Linked DNA regions of Homo sapiens: regions 1, 3 and 4 are each linked to region 2. The links are contacts of gene promoters, found by promoter capture Hi-C in blood cells and fetal thymus (Javierre and others, 2016). All regions are on one chromosome and are shown on one strand. Each heading gives the region's core, a stretch centred on a gene start or on the middle of the fragment in contact. The rest is flanking DNA. Distances are from core to core; before and after follow the strand shown.

Region 1 (2,700 bases), core at 178-2,677, 220 kb before region 2:
AATTCTTATGCCTCAGCCTCCTGAGTAGCTTAGACTACAGGTGCATGCCACCACTCCTGGCTAATTTTTTGTATTTTAGTAGAGACAGGGTTTCACCGTGTTGCCAGGCTGGTCTCGAACTGCTGAGCTCAGGCATTCCACCCACCTTGGCTTCCCAAAGTGTTAGGATTACAGGCATGAGCCATCGTGCCCCAGCAAGGCACCATCTCTAAAACAAACAAACAAACAAACACCCTATCTCTAAAACAAACACACACACACACAAACAAAACAAAAAAAAGTAAACAATACTGTCTTGTTTCAGTCCTGGAAAGGAAAGTATCTGCTAAATTCTGAGTCTCTAAAGTCTGCACTTTCCTGCATGAGCAATACTGACTGATAAACAGACCTGGTTGCCTTTTGGTGGCCTCATAGACCTTCATAAATCTGTACTAGGAATCAGCTCTTTCAGCCAAGACCAGAGTCAGAGGCCTTGTAACAGGGTTCAATGTGTTCTGATTCCCAAGGCATCCCCCAGACAGGTTTTGGTTAGTTTCCAATTTATTTTTACTAACTCATTTATATGGACTATTTTCATGTTGTTTGAGCACTTCTTCTTGGGGGAGAGGGTGGATATAAAGCAAAAAGGCCAACCTTGAGAAGGTTGAGAAGTTCGGATTAGGTGTGATCAGGCTGATGGAGTTTGCTTGTACAAATAATGATAGTTCTTTGTACACACACTGGGACTCTTTGAATAGCTTTCCCCTTTTGAATATCATTTAAACTTGAATGCCTGGACTGCAAGTAGCAGGCAGAGATTGTTTCCAGTTAACAGATGGGGAAAGCTGAAGCCCAGAGAAAGCACCTTGCCTAGGGTCAGATAGCCAGATATCGAGGAGTTTCACTTCAGTTTTCTCATTTGGTGCTCAGAGTAAGCCTGGAAGAAATGGGAGCGACAGTTGTTAAACTCCTGTCACAGATGAGAGTCAGAGGTAAAATGGGATTGTTCTGGAAAAGGATAAAGGCTGAATGAGAGCCCAGGATTTCTGACCTCTTTCCTCTCTATTCCCAAACTATCAAATCCAGACCTCAGGATTCATGACAGGGCTGTGCCTGCTGGTTCAGTCCATCTTCATGGTGTGTCTTTCCAACCCGAGTCTCTGGTTAGCTTCTGCCCTCTCATTGAACAGGTAGCTAACCCAAACCCTTAGCAGGACTTGCAGTACCTTACTCAGCCTGGAGACCCTTTCTTCCTCTTTGTCTTTGTCCCTTATTTCCACCCACTCAATCCTAAGGGGATGCCAGGACCTTTCCCCTAGACTAGTTGCTCTTAACCACCTTTGGCTCATGGATACCTTTGAGAATTTGATGACAGCAATGGACTCTCACAGGAAAAAAACCCACGGAGGCAGTTTTGCACACAATATCAAGGGGCTTGGAATCTCCCAAGCTCAGCCAGCTTGCCCACAAGTTAAAAATACCCGCCCTCCGTCTTGTTCTCCCCAGATTAAGTCCCCCTCCCAAGGAGGTTAGTGACCCTGTGATCATCACAGGCAACTGATAAAGGCTCCAGAAGATGGCAGAAGGATACTTCCCCTCTTCCTCAGCCTTTCTTCCTAAGGCATGTGGACATGGAGTGCCCACCAATGTGGAGTTATTTATGGCCAGGACTTAGTTTCATATCCTGCACAGCCTGCCACAGGGGAGGTGCATGGAGCAGAAAGAGAGGTGGGGTCAGCAGGGAGGGCTGAGAGCCCACCCAAGTCACAGGCTGCCCCTTGTGTCCACCTCCAGCCAGCCTCTCTGCTCCTGGGGAGTACAGTGGGGGCTGGGCAGTGGGCTCCTGCTGCCTCTGCACCCTCTCCCTTCTCTGGCTGGACACAACTCTTCCAGGGCAGAAGCTCTGGCTCATTCCCCTTGGCCAGCTCAGTACCCACTCGGCCTGCTTGTCTGTGTTGAGTGGGTTGGCATGGGTTGGGTGCAGACACTCTGCTGTGTCTCAGTGATGCTGTTTGGAAGGAGAGAGCTGGAAGGTCCCACTGCCCTGGGTAGGATGTGGTATGTACGCAGGTGTGTCTCGGGGTTGGTGATCGGTGGCGAATGGGTGGTGGAATGAGTGTTGGGTCGCCTGCTGTTGAGGAAGGTAGAGTCAAATGTCTTTTCTCTTTATTTTTCAACCCATAAGTGTCTCTGTCCTAGTGGTCACTCCTCTCTCTTTCCCCCCATCATCGGAAGGAAGCTCTCCCTACCTGCACCCCACAGCTCTGTTGCCTCCATCTCTGCTCCTCCCAGTGCCCCTGCCCCGCACGCCTTCTTACCTGGCTGCCTTTCTCTGGCCTGTCCTGCTGGGTCTAGCCCTCACTCTGCTCCTCTAACCTGCATGTGTCCAGCTGCAGTGGCTGTTCTGTGTCGCACGGCCCCCTCCCTTCCCTCCTCCCCCACCGGCCCCACCCCTTCCAGAAGATGCGTGGGGGGGAGGTTGGGGGGCAGGGGCATCATGAACCCCTGGGGTGGAGGGGGACCGGGGGAATTATTCCCCTGTTTCCTGCTTTTACTAACGAACCTGCCATTTTTGTGTCTGGACTTTGATTCGTCTGAGGGAACAGTCGGGTTTTACTAATCTAAGTCATCTCCCTCCTTGCCTTCCCCAGAGACCTTCCTCCATTCCCTCTACCCTTGGCTTCCTTTCCACCCAGAACCCGTCCCCACTATCTCCCTCTA
Region 2 (2,700 bases), core at 92-2,591:
GGGACCCCACCCTTCCCTTTGGGGCCCTGACTTTGGAGAAGGGACTTCCCTGGGCTGGAAATTTGGCCTTCTCTGGAGTCCTGCACCTTGTCTTCTGCCCTCTGACCCCTGGCTATAGAAGAGAAGCATTTCGTTAAATTCTGCCAAGGAATCCTGACTTTGCTTTAAATTGGTGATGCGTGGCCCTGAACTTGTCATTTTCCCTCTTCTAAGTGTCAGTAGTATTCAGTGACAGCCTCCCCACTCCACGTCCTTCTCACGGCTATTTTCCCATCTGTCTCTCAACATCAGTGATATTAAACGAGCCGGGCATCCCCGTCCACCTGAGTCCTGTCCCAGGTGACCACAGGCGGAGGCCTGAGCAGCTGCTCTGCCACCTCGTGCCAGGGGCCTCCGCAACGGGCTCCAGTCACCAGGGGCCAGCGGGGCATCCTCCTGCAGCATCCCGTCCTTGGGGCCAGCTTCCTGGGGCCCCTCCTGCTGTTCCCTGCCTTCAGCTGTCTGAAAACAGAGCCCAAGACAGGGATTTACTAGGGGAGGGCTCATCCTGGGACAAGCCGCCCAGGATGTGAGGGCAGAGGGGCGGGGAAGGAGAAAGGACTCGGTAAAGGCGTGGTCCCAGGGTAAATACAGCTCTGGCAGATATGCAGGGGGCCCTGGGGCAGAGGTATCGCCATCTAGAGGCAGGCGAGGGAACAGTCTTTTGTACAGTTAGCCGTGGGCTGTGGGCGTCGCCTGAACGTACCAGGTATTGTGGCTCCATTGGCTGAGGATGCTTCTCCAGCGAAGGAGGCAGGGAGCCGGGGAAGTGGGGTGGGGTCGCGACACCGACAGCAGCTGCCAGACCAGCCATGCTGCGCTCAGCTCCCTCAGGCTGTCACTCTTAATCATCATGTCACTATCTCTGGGGCGTGTCAGTCACCATCAACGACGTGTCCCCCAAGCTGCAGAGGACGCAAATCCAGCTCTCCAAGAGGCTCTGTTGGCCCTCTCCACATGGGCTTGAGGTCAGGGGTGGGGGCACGTTCGGACCGCCCTCCTGCCTCTCTGAAGAAGATCCTCCAAGTCCCGGCTCCAGCTCTCCGGCCTCTTTGGCAGCTGGGCGGGTGGCCATCCAGGAGGCCCGTTCTCCATGCCCAGTTTGGCAAGGCTCCTTGGGACGCCGGGCTCGCTGCCCCTGTTTTCTTAAAGCTTCGGCCCAAAGGGACCCAGAGTCTGAGGTTAACACTCCGTCATCCCAGCGTGAGCGGCGCCTGACTCCAGCTCTCGACTCCCCCACCTCCTATCCCCTGCGCCGGGCTCACCCTGCACTCCCACCTGCAAATCAGCAGAGCAGAGGCCAGCGCTCCCGACGTCCAGCACCACCCCAAGCGAGGCAGGGGGAGCTGAGTGGCCGGGAGCGCCATCTAGTGGGTGCCAGGGGCGAGTCCCCGAAAGAGACTGGAGAGCCACGACTCGGGCAGGGCAGGATGGTGTCCCAGGGAGGGCCGGGGCCCAGGCGCTGGACAGCAGAGGACATAAAGGGAGAGGCATGGGAGAGCGAGGAGCCAGGGTGCTTCCGGGGCGCATGAGCCCCACCCCAGCCTGCCCCTGCCCTCGTAACCAGATGACTCGGCTCAGGCAGGACACACCACGTCCAGTCTCTGTCCCCTCTCCAGACTCTTGGGAAAGTGTCACTTAAAATCCATTTGGGTCTGGTGTTTGCTTTATTCCAAGGAAAGGGGTAAGGAAAAATTCAGAAAAGGGGCGAGGGTCTCCCCTCTCCACAGTGGCAGTCAGGGGAATAGTGACATTCACCCCCTCCCCCAACCTGGTCTTGAACGTGGCAGGGAAGAGAACTGAGCCACCTGTCACCCAGAGGGGGAGGGGGAAGGTCAGAACTCCAGCCTTCCCACAGCAGACACGCCTGCGGGGCAGGAAGCAGGCAGGCTCCACGCAGTGTAGACATGTGCACTCACACGGATGTTAACAGTCTGGAAGAAACTGACCTGGCTGTGAATAGAGGCTCTCTCATGGGGAAGGGGCAGAAGATGGAGCTTTCACTTCTCCATTTATACACTTCTCCAAAATGTGGTGGGACCATGAGGAAACTGCACTTTCAGTTTTGATCTCTTTTTGTATTTTTTCAGTTAAAATGCAATTGGGAACAATGGGGTGTTAAGTGCCTCAGTGTGGAAGGCTGCGGCATCACCATTGAAATGCTGTATCAGACCTGGATTGGATCCACCCTCGACTCAGGGCTGTGCAAACTGGGACCCAGATCCCGCGCTGTGGGAACGGAGCCCTGCTCCGCTGTTTACATGTTGTCTCTGGCTGCGGCCTCGCTGTGACAGCAGAGTTGAGGAATTGCCACAGAGACTGTTATAGCCCACAAAGCCCAAAATATTTACTCGCTGGCTCTTTATGGAAAAAGTTTGCCAACTATCAAATTACAAGAAATACAGGGACTGGGGAGCCTGCTCAACAAAGCTAAGGGGACGTGACCAGCAAAATCCAGACTGCAGGCAACCATAGGACAAAGCGCCAGTTTCTTCAATACGTAATTTGCAACAGCAACCTGCTTACTAGAGGCCAGGAAGGGGAGGGGGAAAGGAGGGGATGAAGAAAGGTTGATGAGTGGGTACAAATACACACTTACATAGACGAAATAACATCTGGTGTTCAATAGATCAGTAGGGTGACATTAATCGATTGTACACT
Region 3 (2,700 bases), core at 151-2,650, 180 kb before region 2:
CTCTGGGGCGGGGCTAAGCGGCTCTGGGGCGGGGCTACTGGAGAGACGAAGCTTGCGAGGCGGGACTAGGGCAGGGGCGTGGCTAGGAAAAGTCGGGATTTGTGGCGGCGGGGCGAGACCGTGGTGGTGCGAATGCGCCCCCTATGGGGGAGGGTGCAGGGCTGAGCTGGGAAGGTTGCAAGGCCAGGGTCCAGTTTGGGGGTGGGGGGAGAAGTGGAGGGAGGGTAGAGGTGAGGAGAATCTGATGCGATTGCGGAAAGGTTGAGTTCAGAAATGAGGGAGACAGATGCAGAAACAGGAGAGAAAATCCAGAAGTAATATAAAACGTGTCTTGGCAAGGAGACAGGGCTGTTACCACGGGCAGAGCCAAGGAAAGAACCGAGGTCCTTATAAAGAGCAAGTCAGAGATCCATATTAGGAGATCTAACGAAGGAAGAGGAGTAGCCACGGAGACTCAGAGAAAAGGACCCCCAGTGTCCAAGGCGGTGAGGGACATGGTGAAAGGGAGGAAGAGACAAGTGACAACAAAAATGAAACACAGGGTCATGTGCGTTCAATAACCTTTGTTGACAACCTACTTAGATATCAGGGCTTGTGCTAGGTCCGGGGCACTCAGTCCCTGCTTGCAGGGAGCCTTGAGAATGCAGACAGACCAAGTTCAACAGGGTGACAGCTGTGGCGGCCAAGGACAAACCAAGGTCTGAGGAGCACAGGAGAGGGATGGAGATGAGGACATGGAAGAAATGAGGAGGCAGAGACTCTGAAAGATATTGAGGGAGGCAGAGACAGAGCCTTAGAATGAGAGGAAACCAGAGGGGAAGCAATGGAAAGATATGGAAATAGCACTGAACTATATGCAAAGATGAGGAGAGATGTGGAGAGGTAGATGGAGATGCTGACATGCAGGCCCAGGGAGAGAAGAGGTGGACAGAGCCTTGGGAGGGAACGGAGGAGAGCCCCAGCATGGGAGATAAAGAGGGAGGGGAAACAGGAACGCTGCAGGGAGAACTGCAGAAACACAGAGATGGTGAGATACAGTCTGAGCGACATTGCAGTCACACACAGGGCCTGACTGAGAAGCAGAGTGAGCATCTGCGACCTCCATCACTCTCCCAGGCGGAGAGATAGCCAGGCTGAGGCAGAGAAGCTGCCCCATGCTGACTGCGAGGGGCAGGGGCAAAAGGCCAATGTGTAAACTTTCATGGGCTCACCTATGCTGGAGTAAAGATGCCAGTACAGGCTTATGACACCAATTACGCAGGCTTGTACCCAGACATTTCTGGAAAGTCCCTGGAGATAAAGAGGCCTGCGTGGCCCCCTAATACATACAGAGGTTCATGTACACACAGGTCAACCTTAGACATATGGACAACTGCAGACATTTGTATGGTCAGACAGACACATGAAAAAACAGCTCTGCAGAGGGATGCCAGCCTACATCAAGTCCCTGGGTACATGTAGGGACACTCAACACACACCAACCCTCCTACACTAAATTCCACCTATCCCCCACGCCCCCCAACAAGCCAACACTGACAGCTCTGGCTGTGTAGGCATGATTCCTGTGGGCAGCAGACTTCTCTCATTCTCCGATGCACACATACTAGGGCAACCTTTGTAGCAGTGATGACATTGGCCTGTGCTGGACAGGGCTGGGCTTGGAAGCATGAAGGCCTCACCATGTCAAGCCAGGACTTGGATCTAGAGCTTCTCCCCTTGGGGCCCAGGAGGCCAGCAGTCAGGGTGGAAGAATTATTCCTGCTCTCCTCTCCTCAGGGACCCCTGACTAGGGGTGAGGAAAGGCTGCTGGGTGCCCCCGCCTGTAAAGGGGAGTAACATGAGGGTCTGGTGGTTGCCTGTATATACTGAGGGCAGATCCTGAGCAATACCAGCAGGTCAGACCATCAGTATGCATGGGCCCAGAGTGGGGGGGGACCCTCTGATTCTTTGGGAGCACAGAGACACAGCCCATGGATTCTGAGTCAGAAGAACCTGGGTTTTAATCCTGGATCTCCCACTGACAAGCGTGTAACCTTGGACAAGTCATCTAGCCTCTCTGAATCTCAGTTTCCACTTCGGAAAGGTGATGATACCTACCTCATAGCAATACTGTGAGAATGTCATTAAACACTAGAATGGCATGGCATAGCAAAGGTGCTCAATAAATAGGACTTTTATTAGAATTTTTGTATACTCAGCCTCCCTCCAGGCAGATGTACATTTTTCTCTTCCTCTTGGAGACACACACACAGGATTGAATGATCTGTTTTTAATTTAAACACAAATATCCTGAATCTATAGGGAAAGCAGAATCTCCTTGCCTCATAAGCACCCAAGGAGGCACCATCCATACCCACATGAACACATCGTGTGTACCTTCATGGGAGGTGTACATAGGCAGGCCCAGGCCCGGGTCTCTGGGCAGGTGAGCACAGCTGTGCAGTGAGAGATGAGAGGAAAAGCCTCCTGGCCCCACCAGCGTGCACTGAATAGTATGTCAGTGGCTTAAATGGGAGGAGTGGCCAGATTCTCAAAGGAAATCAGTTCTCTTTCCACTGCTGCAGACCAGGATCACCCACAGCTCACAGAGGTGTACAGATCCTCTCAGGTGCACTGACAAACCTCTTTCCACATAGGCGTCTGTGCACACACACACATTCACACACATTCCCTTTCCCAGTCTCCAGGGGCTGGAGATTG
Region 4 (2,700 bases), core at 104-2,603, 250 kb before region 2:
CCAAGAGGAAGCTATTGCAGGAAACCAGGCACAAGGAGTGAGGCCAGAGGCTACGATGACCTAGGATTGCAGTGGAGAAGGGCAAAAGTGATTCTGTGCTCCTGGGTGTGTTTTCTTCTCTGTACAGAGTCGATAGATAACACCGAGCTCTGTGTTGCAGTGAGGCTGATGTGTGATATTGCATGTGAGGGTCAGTACGGTGCCCAGCACATGGCTAACTAATGGAATCTCTGGAACCTATGAGGGCAGTGTGGGGCATGTAGTGGGAGCTCAGGCAGCACTGGTTGAAAGCAGGGGCTTTGCTAAGCACAGGGGAATAAGCACTTGGTTGTAGGAGTGGAGGTGTCGAGAATGGCTTCAGTGGTGGAGTTTAGATGTCAGAGAGTTGGACGAGCAATTGCACTGCTGGGTGGACACATGGTGATACAGGACTGGTACTCAGGGAGGAGGCCGGGACTACCCATGGTTTGGGAGTCTCTGAGCACGAAAATGAGCCATCACTGAGGAGAGCGAGGAGAAGTAAGAGGAATGTGGAGGGCAGGGGCCAACCCTGAAGGGGACTGAGGTGGCAGGTGAGGGGCATAGGTGAATCAGCAGAAAGCAAAGAGCAGCAGAGGAAGAGAGATATGTGAGTTTCTAGGTGCTGTCTCTCAAAAGCCAGAAACAAACCAAGCCTGGTTGTTTCACCTTCCTGAGCATAGCATGACGTACATTTCTGGCAGGTGGAAATACTTTTTGAAATACCTACCATGTTGGATTATCTAGAAATCACCATGCCTCCTTATTTGCACAGGTGCTGGTGAGACAATTGTGCTGACTGACCAGGGTCTTAGCATACTGGGACCAAAGAAATCCTGGCACAGCAGTCTTCACGAGAGCCAAAGGGTTTCCTGAGGGCCCCTTTATTAGCCAGCTCCCCCCATAAATGAAATGTGATTCAGTTTACTTAAGAAAACTATTGCTGGGCACTGTGGCTCATGCCTGTAATCCCAGCACTTTGGGAGGCCGAGGCGGGCAGATCACCTGAGGTTGGGAGTTCGAGACTAGCCTGACTAACATGGAGAAACCCCATCTCTACTGAAAATACAAAAAGTAGCCGGGTGTGGTAGCGCATGCCGGAGGCTGAGGCAGGAGAATCACTTGAACCCGGGAGGTGGAGGTTGCGGTGAGCTGAGATCGCACCATTTCACTCCAGCCTGGGCAACAAGAGCAAGACTCCATCTCAAAAAAAAAAAAAAAAAAAAAAGAAAACTATTAGACATGTATCTTTTAGGTGATGCAGCTGTCAGGTAGAAGCAGCTCTGTGTTGTAGAGGAGTGTGTTTGTAACACATGTTGACATGGAAAGACTGTGTATGTAGGTTTAGGAAATGGGAGATAAAGAGCTGTGTTCATCGCTGGCTGTATGGCTTTAGCCACTGGAGTCACTGTGGGGTGGTGGTGTGTGTGTCTAGTGTTATGTAGTAGATTACTGTGTAGGTATTGGTGCTTGCATTCAGCCTGTGTATGTGCGTGGATTATGGGAGTGGTATAAGGTATGACAAATGACTATGTTTGTTTTCAGAGTATAGCTACCTCTCTATGAGCGAATGAACAGATATCACCAAATGGGGTTGGAGGTAGGAGGAGATAATGTGTGCATGCGTGAGTGTGAACTGGATAGCTGTGTGTACATAAGTGTGTATCCTGGGGCCTGCATATGCAAGTATGTGTTTCCCCACTGGGTTTGTGTGTTTGTAGATTGTGCTGTTTTCCCCCTCCTGCCTATTGCTTCATCTAAAGGCTCCCAGGAGGTGGGCACATGGCAAATGTTTGGAGCTGGGGGCACCTCCATCCTCTTACAAAGAAGATCAGAGCCCAACCTGCTTGAGGAGTTGTAGCTTAGTTGAAGGAATTGTCTCCATCTTCTCGTTGTTCCATCTTCTCCCTTGACCCATTTGGTGAGCTCCAAGGCCAGATCCAGGCAGGGCCCTAATAGGTGAGGTCTGCCTATCCAAAGGATGTGGCATGGTCTAGGTCTGGGCCCAGTGTGGCCCACTGAATTTGGACTCTCTTCCCCCACTGGCATGGCCATCCAGCCTGGGGGCCCTTGGCCTCATCCAGATGTTAAGAAGACATTTGTCCTAGAATCAGAATCAGAGTCAGAAGAGGCCTCAGAAACTATCCAGTCCACCCCTCTCATTTTGCAGAAGAGGCAGTAGGGACTCAGAGAGGTTAAGTGAATAGGATGAAAGTCACACAGTGCTGTGTGGCAGAATCATGTTTGTTCTCTCTGTGTCTTGATGTCTTTTCACCCCTGGGAGGGTCAGGGGCCGTAGGTGGTTGGGTCCTGTGTGCAGGGGCTTTATATGTGAATTGTGTGAGACAGTGTGTGTCACTGGATTGCTAAGTGCCTATGTGTGTCAGTGTGTCACTGAGCATGAGTGTGTCTCTAGTGAACCCTGTGAGACAATTAGTGGTGTGAGTGTGTCCCCATCTGTCTGTGAGATGCAATGGAATGCAGGGTAGGAGCCTCTCTGGGGAAGTTGAGAAGCCTGACTGCCACTCCTGGCCCTGCCTCAGATTCTCTGTGTGACCTTGAGTGGTTACTTCCCTGTCCTGGGCCTCGGTTTCCTGAAATGTTACTTGAGGGTTGGGTGTGATGGGTACTGGCTGACTGTGTGTGAGGTTCTGACTCAGGGAGCAGCTCTGTGTCTGCCTC

The links. The method cuts DNA at HindIII sites, captures the fragments that hold promoters and counts their contacts. A CHiCAGO score of 5 or more calls a contact.
Region 1: a contact is called between a fragment that was not itself captured here and the fragment with the promoter of LINC02724 in region 2, in 6 of 17 cell types (megakaryocytes, endothelial precursors, M2 macrophages and 3 more). The highest score is 13.5, in megakaryocytes.
Region 3: a fragment that was not itself captured here is called in contact with the fragment with the promoter of LINC02724 in region 2 in 3 of 17 cell types (megakaryocytes, M1 macrophages and endothelial precursors); the score reaches 5.4 in megakaryocytes.
Region 4: a contact is called between a fragment that was not itself captured here and the fragment with the promoter of LINC02724 in region 2, in 6 of 17 cell types (M0 macrophages, M1 macrophages, megakaryocytes and 3 more). The highest score is 8.3, in M0 macrophages.

Annotation. Positions count from the first base shown.
Region 1 is chr11:64,671,253-64,673,952 of GRCh38, reverse strand. The region is part of intron 7 of NRXN2 (neurexin 2); the gene reads left to right. Among named protein-coding and RNA genes, the nearest start is that of NRXN2-AS1, 29 kb to the right of the region's middle. The HindIII fragment of the contact is 4,540 bases long and covers 1-2,700 here.
Region 2 is chr11:64,447,698-64,450,397 of GRCh38, reverse strand. LINC02724 (long intergenic non-protein coding RNA 2724) reads right to left here and starts at 1,341. Exons shown (of 2, transcript NR_073177.1): 1 at 746-1,341; 2 at 1-501. RefSeq lists a silencer at 621-816, a cis regulatory region at 594-863 and an enhancer at 753-1,002. The HindIII fragment of the contact is 9,068 bases long and covers 1,194-2,700 here.
Region 3 is chr11:64,627,610-64,630,309 of GRCh38, reverse strand. The region is part of intron 19 of NRXN2 (neurexin 2); the gene reads left to right. Among named protein-coding and RNA genes, the nearest start is that of NRXN2-AS1, 15 kb to the left of the region's middle. The HindIII fragment of the contact is 2,694 bases long and covers 54-2,700 here.
Region 4 is chr11:64,697,972-64,700,671 of GRCh38, reverse strand. The region is part of intron 2 of NRXN2 (neurexin 2); the gene reads left to right. Among named protein-coding and RNA genes, the nearest start is that of NRXN2, 24 kb to the left of the region's middle. The HindIII fragment of the contact is 3,809 bases long and covers 1-2,700 here.